2 separate regions of the Homo sapiens genome follow, and region 2 is linked to region 1. The links are contacts of gene promoters, found by promoter capture Hi-C in blood cells and fetal thymus (Javierre and others, 2016). All regions are on one chromosome and are shown on one strand. The core of a region is centred on a gene start or on the middle of the fragment in contact, and the rest is flanking DNA. Distances in the headings are between cores, read along the strand shown. Region 1 holds the start of USP24 (ubiquitin specific peptidase 24). Region 2 holds the start of LINC01562 (long intergenic non-protein coding RNA 1562).

Region 1 (6,737 bases), core at 1,338-3,837:
AAAGTAAACGGTGCAGCTTCCCTCCCCCAGGCCAAATCCACAGGTCTAGGAGAAATGAGGACTTGATGCACTGCTTCGAAAAGATGGAGATTTTATGGATTTTAATTTACCGCAAACCAAACTCCTTAGCCTGCCATTCACGTAAGAAGCCACTCCCAATTCTTTGTACTTACATGTACTGGCAGTAAGCTAAGGTTAGCGCTAATGTTAACATGAATGCACCAAGCATTGTAATTTAAATTGATTTTCCAATCACAGGAAATTAAAAGGTATGACAAAAGAAAAAAAGAATCACATTTCTCACATAATGAGGATACACTGAGCTTTGCAGAGTTATACAAACACCTTCTGAAAAAGCAACGGCTTTCTTCTTGATTTCAAAACTGGGTCAAAAACTAGAAGGAACGAGGGAGGAGTGATAGGAACTGCCAATGAGAAGCTGATTTCTTAAAATGACTTAAGTATGGTTACTCAATTATATGGGAATTTAAAAAAATTCCCAAACTAGGAATAGTAACAATCTTTATTTCCATATACTAGTCAACGATACAGCTAAGTTAGTGGGTTACAGAGGGCAATCTAGCAACTGTGTCTAAGTGTGGAAGCCAAAGAAATCTTGTGCAGAAACCTGTTCTTTTTAAGTGCCACCTTCTTGTTCAAGCTACTTCAGCCCGAGGAACTGTTGCAAAAGCATACAATTAAAAGGATATAACACTGCTCAGGAAAAAGTGTTTCAAAAGGCTTAGCTTCACTAAGCTTAATTCTTCATTAAGAACGAACCAAATTCGTATCTCTACCTAATAACGCAATCCCAATAATTTGAGATCTGTGCTTTTCTGTGGTCAGGCCAAGCTGCTCTACTGGCCCCTGAAATGAACTACCCAACGAATCTGACCAAAATTCCTGCCATGAGCTACTATGTTTCTGCAAAGTAATTATTCAAAAGCACTGCTGCTTCTGGTCGATCTTTTTTCTTTATTATAGAAGAGTCCGTTTTCTTCCCCCACGTTCCTTGCTCACACCCCAAACTAAACAGGCATAGTCTTCTCCACCTAGACTTGAGGTCTCTGATCAAAGCCATTAGCCTCAAGACTCCTCCTCCACCCCCACTGCGCTCCCACCCTGTTCCGCGCCCCTCTGCATAGCACCCTCAGTATGACTACCATCTCTTTCCCCGGTCTAATTTTCTCTCATTTCTGACCTTATCGATGACCAGTACTCCCTCTTTACCCAGACCTGGTGCCAGCTCTATCTTCCAATTCCAGTCCCCATCCCTGCCTAGACCCTCCTCAGCTCCCACCCCTGCCCAGGCCTCCCACCTCTGCCCTCTCAGTGCAATCCCCACTGCTCTCATACCTGATTTTATTCAAGTCCTCATTCCTGGCCGCGGCCCCTTCCCTCTTCATTTTAAATCCTACTCAATGCCCCCCCTTTCCGACCCTTGGCTAAAACCCCAACCTCACTCCTAACCCCAACAGTTTTCCTGTGATCCTGTCAAAGACCACTACTCTGGCCGGCCCACACCGCTTTTTCTGACTCTGAGCCTGGTGCCTCCGCCAATCCTTCACTGAAACCTCGTGCCACAAAATCTCCGACCTAGCCTAGTGCACTAGTACCCCATTTCCGACCCCCTACTGCACGCATCCTTCCCACTATATGCTCAAGTGTCTGTCCTCCCATCTCGGATGATAGCCCTGGAGCCTCCTCCCCATCGTCGGCGTGCATAGCCGGAAGCCTAAGGGACCCCTCCTCACCCCAACCCACAGCTCCGCTGCGCATCCCTAATTCCCTTTCACACGCCTCTCCTATGGGTCCCTCTCCCCACTTACCCCCAATCAAGTGACTTCGGTTCCCAACTGGAGCCTGGGGCTTCTCTCTCTCTCTCCGCCCCGCCCCCACTAAAGCCCCAGTCGAATGCCCTCTCTCCCCACACCAAGCCCAGCGGGGTGTGTCCCCTCCCAGGAACTCCAGCCCAGTGGCTTCCCACAGAGGTCTGGGGTTGCCCCTCCTCACCTCCGCGTCCACCACCTCGTGGTAGGCGGGCGGGGGGTCGAAGCCGCCCCCGCCTCCGGTGCTCCCGCCGCGGGAGGGGCCGCCGCCGCCGCCGTCACCTCCGCCGTCGCCCCGCGGGCCCCCGCCGGGCCCGGGGCTGGGGCCACCGCCGCTGTCCATGGGCTCGTAGCCGCCGTAGTCGAGGCCCGGCCGCTCGTTGGTGAGCAGTGCCACGGCCTCGTTAATGTCGTTCTTGGCCAGGCGCAGGGCCTTGCGGATGGTGGCGGGGTCTGAGAAGCCCATGCACAGCAGCGTGGTCATGTGCTGCTCCTCCTCCGATTCCATGGCTTGGGCCTCCTGGCCGCCCCGGCCAGCGCACGGCGAAGCTACGGGTCCCGGGCCTGGCGGGCCGCGCGGCGCACCCTCCGCGCCGCCTCCGCGCCCAGGTTGGCCCCTGCGTTCCTGCCCCGGGTGCTCCGCAGCAGCCGGGCCAGGCTGGGTGCGGGCTTGGGTCCTGCGAGCCGAGCTAGTGCGGTGAGGCGCTCAGGCGCGGCTGCGGCCCGGCCCAGCCCTGCGCGCCGCCATGTTGGCCTCCTCCCCCTCCGCCTCCTCCTCCCCGGGCGGCGGGGCCGCGCCTCGGCTCCCGGAAGCGGCACGGGAGGCGACCGTGCTCGCCGTTGGCAGGCTAGGGTTGGCGGCGGCGTATTCTGTTTGTTTTAAACGAAGGAGCGGAGGGAGGGGCCGCGCCGCGGAGCGTGCCTAAGGTGAAAGGGCTGCCGTGCAGCCAGGCAGAGGCGAGGAAGGCTTCTCCATCGTCGCCACCGCCCGCCTGTTTCGCCGGCAACAGGTTCCCCCGGGACGGGAGGGGCCGCAGCGCCGCGCAGCTCGCAGCGCTGAACGTCGCGGAAATCCCTTGGCCGGCCGAGCCTCCGCAGCCGCGACCCGGCTTCTCTCCGTCCGAGTCCCCCGAGCCTCTCCGAACCCCCGTTGGACTTCCCCTCCCTGGCCGGCGCCGCCCGACCCGCTCCCCCATCCTAGAGGGAATTCCCTGCGCCGCGGCTGTGAGGCACCTCCACCCCGGCCTGAAATGCACCGCAGTCCTGAAGGAAATCCACCCTCATCCCACGCAGATTCACCCGCAACGCTGCCTGAATACGCCTCGCTGCCCACAGAAATTCCTGCCCAAACCAGACGCGTGGACCACCCAAGACGAAATTCACACTCGACCCTAGCCCCGCCAGCCCTTGCCGAAATCACCCTAAACCCGTTGAAATTAATTCCCAGCTGTCCGAATTTTCCTTCCAACATTAACTGACTACCTGTCTCCGCCAAGCTGACTGAACTCTACCGAACTCTTACCCTGAAAGCCCCTGAGAGTCCAAAATATATTTTTCCAGCCCGAAATCTAAATCCCAGTTCTCTGTATGAAAACCTCCAGAAACCCAGACTCTTACTTCCTTCGGCCACGGACTCGTTCGAACATCGTGGACATCACCTTCCCACATTTTTACCGCAGTCTTTGGCTCCGATTCTTTGTCCCTGCCTCTTGGGCAGCATCCTATCCCTGTTTCTTTCCACCTTTGAGGATTCCTCTACCTCTTTAAAGGCCTGCTTTCTTTGCTTTCTCTTCTCACCTTTGGCATTGGCACACTGGGGTCATATCTTTAGTTCCCTTGACTCCACCATCTAAGCCAAGGGTGTCCAATCTTTTGGCTTCCCTGGGCTACATTGGAAGGAGAAAAATTGTCTTGGACCACATATAAAATATTCTAACGCTAATGGTAGCTGATGAAACTTTTAAAAAATCTCATCATGTTTTAAGAAGTTTACGAATTTGTGCTGAGCCGCATTCAAAGCCGTCCTGGGCCTAAGTCCTTGCTATTTTTCCTCTTCAATTTCCTTCAATCCATAGTTCTCTAGGTTATTTTCCCACCCTTTCCCAAGATTCGGATATCCCTTCATTCTTGCTGAGTTCATCTCCTATGCCTATTCCTACATACTTGCTGAGTTCATCTTCTAATGTCCTCATCCTGGTTTCTTCCTGAACCTGAAATCCAGCTAACCTTACTTTTTCATCCCATCAAACCCCTGCTGTTGCCAGCCCAGCACTCACGAAGATCTTTACATACACCAAATATTAAATTAGGGCCGGTACCTAGACATTGTCTCTGCACTCTGCTGGCATATTTTCCCCTGGACCACGAACCCTTCGTACCTAGTAACTTGCCACCTGTGTTTATAAATACCAGCAATTTGATTTACAGGGTGAATTTGTCACTATTGTTTACTTTTAAATGAAGTTACTGTATTTGTTGTTTCCATTAAAGGCGACATTATAAAGCCTAGGCCTCATATCCAAAGCAAATAAAGTCTCAATTTTTTAATTAAAAGTAACAAAAGGAAACCTCACACTTCTGAACAACAATGACAAGAAGGAATGCCTATAATTGGTTTGGGTCACAATGTACATATTGAAATAAAATTTTTATTAAGTATCAACTTCCAGGTACACAATGAAGTTTTAAATGTTTATCTGTGACATATGAAGAACAAAGCAATCTAAACTGATGTAAGCAGGCTGTCATAAGGTACATGCTGAGGAATTTATTCAACAAATTGAATAAATTTATTCAATAAATAAATAATTATTCAATAAATAATATATTTAATAAATTTAATAAATAGAATAAAAATGATTCTATTTACTGGGTGCCAGGTACTATTCTTCGCACAGACAAAAATTAGATGATGGCAAAGTGAGGGCATTCAATTCTGCCCTGTGTTTGAAGAGTTAATTACTAAGAAATGAATTACAAGGAGAGAGGAAGTAACAAGTAACAAAAAAATTGTTTGCCACTAAAATTTGAGGTAGAACCTAAAAGGTCATGAAAGAGCCGACTGAATCAGATGGCACGTTAAAAGACTCATCAACGGTGGCAGGTTTATAGAACATGACAGAGGAAGCTGTGCTTAGCTGAGAAGAGGAAGCAGAGAAGGAAGCAGAGAAAAACAAAGTCTGTGATAAAAACTGGAAAGGAGCCACAAAAGGCCACAAAAAACAAGGAAGTCCATTTTGGAACCGGATCCTGGAGTGACTGAAAAGGCAGAGTGTCATTTGAGGATGCGAGTAGTATAATCATACTTTTTTGCATGGAAGAAAGCAAGTGAGTACTTTAAACTGTGGAATTGGGATAGCAGGGGTGGGGCCTATGATATGAATATTCATACTTTTCATTTACATTTTTATTTTTATTGCAGTAAAATCTAGAAAATGTTGAGAGGATTTTTAAAAATTTAAATTACATTCAATTCCCATACATCTTTCTCTAGAAAGGTTCTAAAGGAAAAGAAAAAAATAGCTACATAGAGAAGTAAGGTATGATGAACTATCTTGAAGACTGAGGGTTTTCTACTGTTAATAAGTAAGTTTTCAAATTATAGATTGAATATCTACTTTGAGCCAGGCTGAGGACTAGGGAGACAATTGTGAGAAAAACATTACACAATTTCTACCCCTTTGGATCTTACTGTCTATAATAAAGGGAAATAGACAAATAATAGTCATAAAGCATGATAGACGCTTTGATGGGGGAATTTCAGGATATAAGGGGCAAATTTCTGCCCTCTGTGGGGGTAATTACCAAGTCTAGGAAAACTGAAAATTTTCCCAGAGAAGACGACGTTCAAACTATAATCTGACGTAAGGTTGGAAAGCCAGGAAAAGGAATATGAAATGAAGGGAGAAAGTTCCAAAGAACGGGAACAACATGTGCAAAGGTCCTGTTGTGGGTGAGAATAAAGCAATTTGGAGGAATTAAAAGCCAGTGGAGTATAGAATTCTAGAGAGATATGGATTGAGCATTCCTAACCTGAAATCTGAAATGCTCCAAAATCTGAAAAAAAAAAGTATTTTCTTATTCTTTTTTGTCTTCTTATTAAGAGATGGGGTTTCACCATGTTGCTCAGGCTGGTCTCAAACTCCTGAGCTCAAGTGATCTTCTCACCTCGGCCTCCCAAAGTGCTGGGATAACAGGCATGTGTGAGCCACTGCACCCAGCCCAAAATTTGAATTTTTTTTTTTTTTTTTTTTGGAGACAGAGTCTCACTCTGTCACCCAGGCTGGAGTGCAGTGGCACCATCTCGGCTCACTGCAACCTCTGCTGCAGGTTCAAGCAATTCTCCTGTCTCAGCCTCCTGAGTAGCTGGGATTACAGGCATCTGCCACCATGTCCAACTAATTTTTGTATTTTTAGTAGAGGCGAGGTTTCACCATGTTGGCCAGGCTGGTCTCAAGCTCCTGACCTCAAGTGATCTGCCTCCCTTGGCCTACCAAAATGCTGAGATTACAGGTGTGAGCCACCATGCCCAGCCCCCAAAATTTGAAAACTTGAGTGGTGACGTGATGCCACAAGTGGAGAACTCTGCACTTGACTTCATGTGATGGATTGCAGACAAAACATGGGTAGAAACTGAAAGCCTGCCATTGTTTGTTATTGTTGTTGTTTAACAGCTAATATAGGTATTCTGGGGATGATACTGCCCTATTTAGGTACCCTGAACACATTATTTTTTCACTGTATTAAGGGTATGCCATACTTTTTACTGTTAAGTACTTAAGTGTGAATGGTATAAGAAAAAAATTGCTTATGGGTAGCATATATATTCAGAGACAGGAATGATGATGATGCCAGACAATCACAGATTGTCCATATCAGTAGCTCACATGGTGACACCTCTGCTTTCTG
Region 2 (6,737 bases), core at 1,823-4,322, 4.0 Mb before region 1:
TGTCTAACAGAGAGTGTTTTATAAGAGTTTGCTATGATGGCTATTATTCAACTTGGGCCAAAGACAATGTTATTTTCACATCTGATTAGCTTGTGAGTATCCAAAAGAGCCATGCTGTGTTAGGCCCTAGTCACTCTGCAGATCATTTAATTAGCATTAAATGAACAGAAGTAAAGCATTTGGGACAGTGCCTGACACATAGGAAGCACTACATAAGTGATAGATACAATTTTATTCTGGTAGTTTTATTCATTATTATCAAGACCACATGGCCGGGCATGGTGGCTCATGCCTGAAATCCCTGAACTTTGGGAGGCCAAGGCAGGTGGATCATTTGAGGTCAGGAGTTCGAGACCAGCCTGACCAACATGGTGAAACACCATCTTGATTAAAAATACAAAAAGTTAACTGGGCATGGTGGACCCCGGCTATAATTCCAGCTATTCAGGAGGCTGAGGCACGAGAATCACTTGAACCCAGGAGGTGGAGGTTGCAGTGAGCCAATTGTGCCACTGCACTGCAGCCTGTGTGATAGAGTGAGACTCCGTTTCAAAAAAAACAAAAACAAAACAAAACAAAATTCTATCGTTTTTTTAAACTATGTTAAAATTGTAGCTGATATTTTACTCATCCACAAAAAAATAATGGTCAATAACCATTCATCTTTTCTAAAATATCATTTCCTCTGAGCTCAGGGGAATATGCAACAGTTATTCTCTCACCAGACACAGAGGTCTAAAGCTGTACCTTTGTGAGGTAGTGATATATATATGCTCATGGAAGCAAAAGTTAAAAATAAAAGTAGAACAAATATAAAGGTCTGAATGTAGCCCTGCTAACTGTTCACCTACTTGTCTCATCTACTTGAGTTTGAGCTATTTGAAGGCAGGGACCATGTCCAAGCCATTAATGGGCTTCAAATGCTCCTCCCATCTTCTGGTGAACAACTAGCCTTGTTTGTTTGTTTGTTTACTGAGACGGAGTCTCACTCTGTTATCCAGGCTGGAGTGCAATGGCGTGATCTCGGCTCACTGCAACCTCCGCCTCTCAGGTTCAAGTGATTCTCCTGCCTCAGCCTCCTGAGGAGCTGGGATTACAGGTGCATGCCACCATGCCCGGCTAATTTTTGTATTTTTAGTAGAGATGGGGTTTCGCCACATTGGCCAGGCTGGTTTTGAACTCCTGACCTCGTGATCCACCCGCCTCGGCCTCCCAAAGTGCTGAGATTACAGGCGTAAGCCACTGCACCCAGCCCAAGCTAGTTTTAAACTTAACAATATAACTTATTTTCACAAGGCACTATAGAACTTTTCAAGGGCTTGTGTCAGTGTTACCCACCTGTGGAAAAAAAGAATGAAAAACAAAACTTAAAAAAATAAATCTGGCCTGGCGAGCTGGCTCACGCCTATAATCCCAGCACTTTGAGAGGCCAAGGTGGGTGGATCACCTGAGGTCAGGAGTTCGAGACCAGCCTGGCCAACATAGTGAAACCCCGTCTTTACTAAAAATACAAAAAATTAGTTGGGCGTGGTGGTGCGCGCCTGTAATCCCAGCTATTCAGGAGGCTGAGGCAGGAGAATTGCTTGAACCGGGGAAGTAGAGGTTGCGGTAAGCCAAGATCGCACCATTGCACTCTAGCCTGGGCAACACAAGCAAAACTCTGTCTCAAAAAATAAAAATTAAAAAAAATTAAAACTAACTAAATAAATCTATGTCTGGCCAGGCATACAGTGGCTCACACCTGTAATTCCAGCACTTTGGGAGGCTGAGGCGGGAGGATCGCTTGCGCCCAGGAGTTTGAGACCAGCCTGGGCAACATGGCAAGACTTCGTCTCTACCAAAAACAAAAACAAATGCAAGGCATGGTGGTGTGCATCTGTAGTTCTAGTTACTGGAGAGGCCTGAAGCAGGAGGATCACCTGAGCCCAGGAGGTTGAAGCTGCAGTGAGCCTCGATCAAGCCAGCCTGGGTGACAGAGTGAGACCCTGTCTCCAAAACAAACAAACAATGTCTACAAATTCTAGCACTGTGTAAATATTATGTCAAATAATTGTATAAATTATTATTAATAAAAATTTCTTTAGGTTTGACAATAATTTGTGGGGTAAATTTTCTCACTTTGTAAAAATTCCAGGGTACCTCTGATTTCTGGTAAATTTAGCCAATCATAAATTAAATGAGTTCTTGGAAGCTCAACAATTCCAAAACCAAAATTGTGAGTCAGTTTGTTCTTTCTTTCCTTCTTTCCTTTCTTTTTCTTTTTCTTTCTTTCTTTCTTTCTTTCTTTTCTTTCTTTCTTTCTTTTCTTTCTCTTTTCTCTTTCTCTTTCTCTCCCTTCCTTCTTTCCTTCCTTCCTGCCTCCCTTCTCTCTCTCTCTCTTTCTCCTTCCTTTTTTTTTTGAGACTGAGTCTTACTCACTCCCTCGCCCACGCTAGAGTGCAGTGGCACAATCTGGGCTCACTGCGCTGCAACTTCCACCTCCCAGGTTCAAGCGGTTTTCCTGCCTCACCCTCCCGAGTAGCTGGGACTACAGGCGTGCACCAGCACACCTGGCTAGTTTTTGTATTTTTAGTAGAGATGGGGTTTCACCATGTTGGCCAGGCTACTCTCGAATCCCTGACCTCAAGTGATCCACCCGCCTTGACCTCCCAAATTGCTGGGATTACAGACGTAAGCCACCACGCCTGGCCCAAAATTATGAGTCTTTTCAAAAATTTTATATCAAAAAGGTGATATTTAATGTGGAATTTGAGTGCATTTAAATAAGATAGTGACTTCGTAGAATAGGGACTGCAGAGTAAGAGTGTTCAGACCCATTCGAGTTTAATATAGCCCTACCTCTAAGAATCCTTTCTGTTCCTCACTCAAATGAACTAATTGCTGTCTTTCAGTTCCTCTAAAAACCTTGGGGTCCGTGGCAGGGTGTGGGCTTAGGACTCACCTGATTACTTGTCTTCCCAGGTGGTCTCTGGGCTCTATCAGGAACAAGCCAGGTATGATCATCCTTTTCCCCAGTCCTTAGCGTGGGGTCTGGTATACACACGCACACACAACTTCAGTAAATGGTGAATGAAACGAAAGGCAGTCAAGATCCACCTGTTGAATGAACGTCTATCAGGAGCACTGTCATCCTTCTTGCTTCCTTCTTTTGCATATGTTGTTTGAGCTGCTCATTCAACCAAGGAGAGAGCATACTCTACCTTGGGCAGTGTGCCAGCCTTGCACAGAGGGACAGATGATTCAGCTTGATCAGGCTGTGACAGAGAAAAGCTCAGGGTCTGAGAGCACACAGGATGCGACTAACCCAGACTGGAGGGTCAGGAGAGTCTCCCCAGGGGAAATGAAGTTGCATCCAGAAGGATTCCTGAGAATAATGATTAGCCTGATGAGAAGCAGAAAGGTTGGGAGTGGAGGGAAGTGGGTTTCTGTGAGAGAAACAATATGGACAAAGGCCCCAGGCAGAGGCAATAGTATTCCAGATAACGAAAAGCATTTTAGAGAGTCTAGTTTAGAATTTGTGAAGGAGGTGACAATGCTGCTAATGAGATTGAAAGGGAGTCAGATTTGTAAACCATTTAAGGATTGTCTTAAGGACAGCCTTGAGGAGACACTGAAGGTTTTAACAGGAGAATGACATGATCCGATTTAAATTTTAAAAAGATAACTCTGTCAACTGTGCCAACAGTGAATTGGATGTGGGCAATGATGAACTCAGGAACAGCTGAGAGTCTATTGCAGAAGCCAAGGTGAGAGATGATGGTGGCTTGGACTTTGGTGCTGGGACTGGAAAGAAATGAACAATCTGATATACAACTGGAAGAATAATCTCTCTGGCTGTGATGTGGAAGGATAAGGACGTGATTGGACAGGCAGGGATGGTTCAGTAACGAGCTAGGACTTTATTGTGAAGGGATAAAGGGGAAGCTTTTAACATTTTAATCATGGGACTGATCCATTCCGATATGGGTTTATATAAATAGACCGCTTGGCGGAGGGTGGTGAGAAGACTGTCAGGCAGTGCACAGGTAAGAACTGAGCCCTAGACGGGGCAGGAGCAATGAATGTGGGGAGGCGCGGGAGACGGGAGATTGGTTTCGGAGCCAGGTACGGAGCCAAGCAGTCAGAGAGAAGCAAAAATTGACGCAGCACCGAGAACAGCTGCTAGTGGAGAGGGGGATGGGCGCCGCCGGAGCCGCCCTCGCCTCCTGGCGCCGGGGGCGGGACCAGAGCACGCACGGCGCGATGACGCAGTGCCCGAGCCGGCCTCGTTCTGGCTGCCGCCGTCTCGCTGAGGCGGAGTAGGATGAGGCCCGCGGCCGTGGCTCCGGCGTCGGCGGGGGCAGCAGCAGCTGAGGCAGCAGCTGAGGCAGCCGCGACGGCCGCGCCCCCCCCCGCTGACCTGGATTAGGCCCAGCAGCTCCGTGGCCGCCGCCGCCCCGCGGGGGGGCGGGGTGGGGAAGTGCTTCGTCTCCCCGCCCCCCCCCCCCCATCGCTGCCTCGCAGGAGGCGAACGCCGCGACCCCAGCGGAGCCCGCGGCCCAGCCTTGATCCCCCAACCCCGGGGGCTGGCATGAGCGGCCCCTCGGCGGCACCGTGGGGCGGTGGAGTCGCCTCCGCCTGATCCCCGGCCTGTCGCCCGACCCCACCTCGCCAACCGAGGCGGACCGCGGAGTGTGCGAACGACCCCACCGCTGCTTTCTCCTCCCCCAGATCACGCACCCCAGCTCCGGAAGATGGGGAACTGCCTCAAATCCCCCACCTCGGATGACATCTCCCTGCTTCACGAGTCTCAGTCCGACCGGGCTAGCTTTGGCGAGGGGACGGAGCCGGATCAGGAGCCGCCGCCGCCATATCAGGTAGGGGAGGGTGTGTGTTGGGGGGAGCGAGTAGAGGCAGCTCTGGCGGAGATTGAGGGGGCTTCGGGGCCGTCTCTGCCCCTGGCTTCGGCAAGGCCTGGCCTGGGCGGCATTGACCCCTTAGGGCTGGATCTGAGGGCATTTGCTCTCTGATCTCAGAGTAAGGTTGATTCTTCGCCTGCCCTCGGGCACCGTGTGGGGATGATACCCTCTGCCCTTGAGTTCTGGGATCAGAGTATGTGATCACATCCCCTTGGCCAGTGTCTGGTGGTTCGCTTGTGGAGTTTGGGAGTGACATTTTCCTGTCTTTATGTCTGAATCGTATGATTTCCTCATCGCACCGCCAACTGGATTATGGGTTCTGGATAGGTGGTTGCCAAGCACCACCCCCCCGCCCCATTTATGTTTTCATGTGTGGTCGTCCTCTTACCCACCTCCCTCGTCTTTTTGTTAATTGGATCTGGCAGGTTTTCCCTCTGCTTGGGAGACGGATCTCCAAGTGGTGATTTTAACCCTAGCGACATCGAGTTACTTGTGTGTGTGTGTATATATATATATATGTGTATATATATATATATATATATGTATATAAATTTTAATCCCTCCTCTTTTTGCTCCACCCATATGACACACCTTTTAAACGTGCTGACTTAAGAAAACTTGATTAGCTTGAACTTTGGAAACCTTTAAACCTGGCTTGGGAAATTCCTTCGGTTACTCGTGTTCTCCCTTTGTATCAAAGACTCTCCTAAATACGTTGTACTGCTTTTTGTACAATAATCAGTAGTCCCAGATGTGTTGCAGAATTCGAGTGAAGACCTCTTAAACTCAAAATAGGTATGTGGATGTTATAATCCACAATAGATGTGTGAAAACCTTTCCTGTACTTTTTCCATTTTAGATGATATTGAATACACCCTTTTCCAGAGGGCTTCAATAGTAGTAGTGCTTAATTTCTTCCTGAAGAGTTTAGTTTTCTGACTGGGTAGGCTCCTTTGTTGTTTCATGTGATGACATCATTATCTAGTGTTTTCTTTTCTCATTCCTGTGTAAACCAATGTCTCATCACACCAGAAAAACCTGATCATATATATGCTCGTTTTCTGAATAAAATTCTTCTGGGGGCATTTCATATATACCAGTAAGGTCCAGTCTTGATTGTGGTATTACAGAAGCCTCCATGACTTCTCCCTCTTACGTTCTATATTCCAGGCCTACCAAATACACCAGGCTGTTCACAGCTTTGTTTTGCTCCAGTTCCTCTCTGCTTGGAGCCCTTCGCCCGGGTCAGCCAGGTGGACATCTAATCCTCTTTGAGAACTCAGCTTTCATGTCTGAAGTCCCAGCATTCCCTTCCTTCCCAGCCCGAATCCCTTGTGTCCCCACTGAAACCTCTACACTTCCATAAGCAATATCTATAACACTTTAGTGTTGTATCTTTGTTAGATGTGTGTCTCATCCTTGTAATCGCCTCCTTCAGTGCAAGCTGCGTGAAGGTAGAGAATCTGTGTTTCCGGTTTGCTGTTGTATCCCTCGCATCTGCCTCAGTAGGGACTCAGTAACTGGGAGATAAATTACGAGTAAAAGCCCTTGAGAACAGGGACTCTCCCCTCGCTCAGTTTCTGGCACATAAGCACCTAAATGCTGAATTAATTAATGAAGTTGAATTTAGTATTTTCTGTATTTACACAAATATTTTTTCCAAAGTAAGTTGTCACAGGGTAGTCTCTTAAAAATCAAAGCTGAATCTGGGTGTCTTTACAAGTACCTTTGAGTGAAGCAAGCAAGCTATGTTTATCCTTCACTGTCTTTCCCTCCTATGTTTACTATACAACAAAAGTGCTTATTTAACTTTTTTTTTTTAATGAGATGGAGTCTCGC

Evidence for each region. The method cuts DNA at HindIII sites, captures the fragments that hold promoters and counts their contacts. A CHiCAGO score of 5 or more calls a contact.
Region 2: the fragment with the promoter of LINC01562 here is called in contact with the fragment with the promoter of USP24 in region 1 in 1 of 17 cell types (naive CD8 T cells); the score reaches 5.1 in naive CD8 T cells.

Annotation. Positions count from the first base shown.
Region 1 is chr1:55,212,777-55,219,513 of GRCh38, forward strand. USP24 (ubiquitin specific peptidase 24) reads right to left here and starts at 2,588. Exons shown (of 68, transcript NM_015306.3): 1 at 2,014-2,588. The coding sequence starts at 2,337. It overlaps LOC100507634 (a long non-coding RNA gene), which reads left to right and starts at 2,632. Exons shown (of 1, transcript NR_038320.1): 1 at 2,632-4,679. MIR4422HG (MIR4422 host gene) reads left to right here and starts at 5,085. Exons shown (of 2, transcript NR_146283.1): 1 at 5,085-5,156. RefSeq lists an enhancer at 1,476-1,535 and silencers at 1,996-2,185, 2,256-2,765. The HindIII fragment of the contact is 9,819 bases long and covers 755-6,737 here.
Region 2 is chr1:51,232,024-51,238,760 of GRCh38, forward strand. LINC01562 (long intergenic non-protein coding RNA 1562) reads right to left here and starts at 3,073. Exons shown (of 2, transcript NR_147076.1): 1 at 2,942-3,073. It overlaps RNF11 (ring finger protein 11), which reads left to right and starts at 4,250. Exons shown (of 3, transcript NM_014372.5): 1 at 4,250-4,856. The coding sequence starts at 4,734. RefSeq lists a silencer at 4,035-4,514. The HindIII fragment of the contact is 11,293 bases long and covers 1-3,922 here.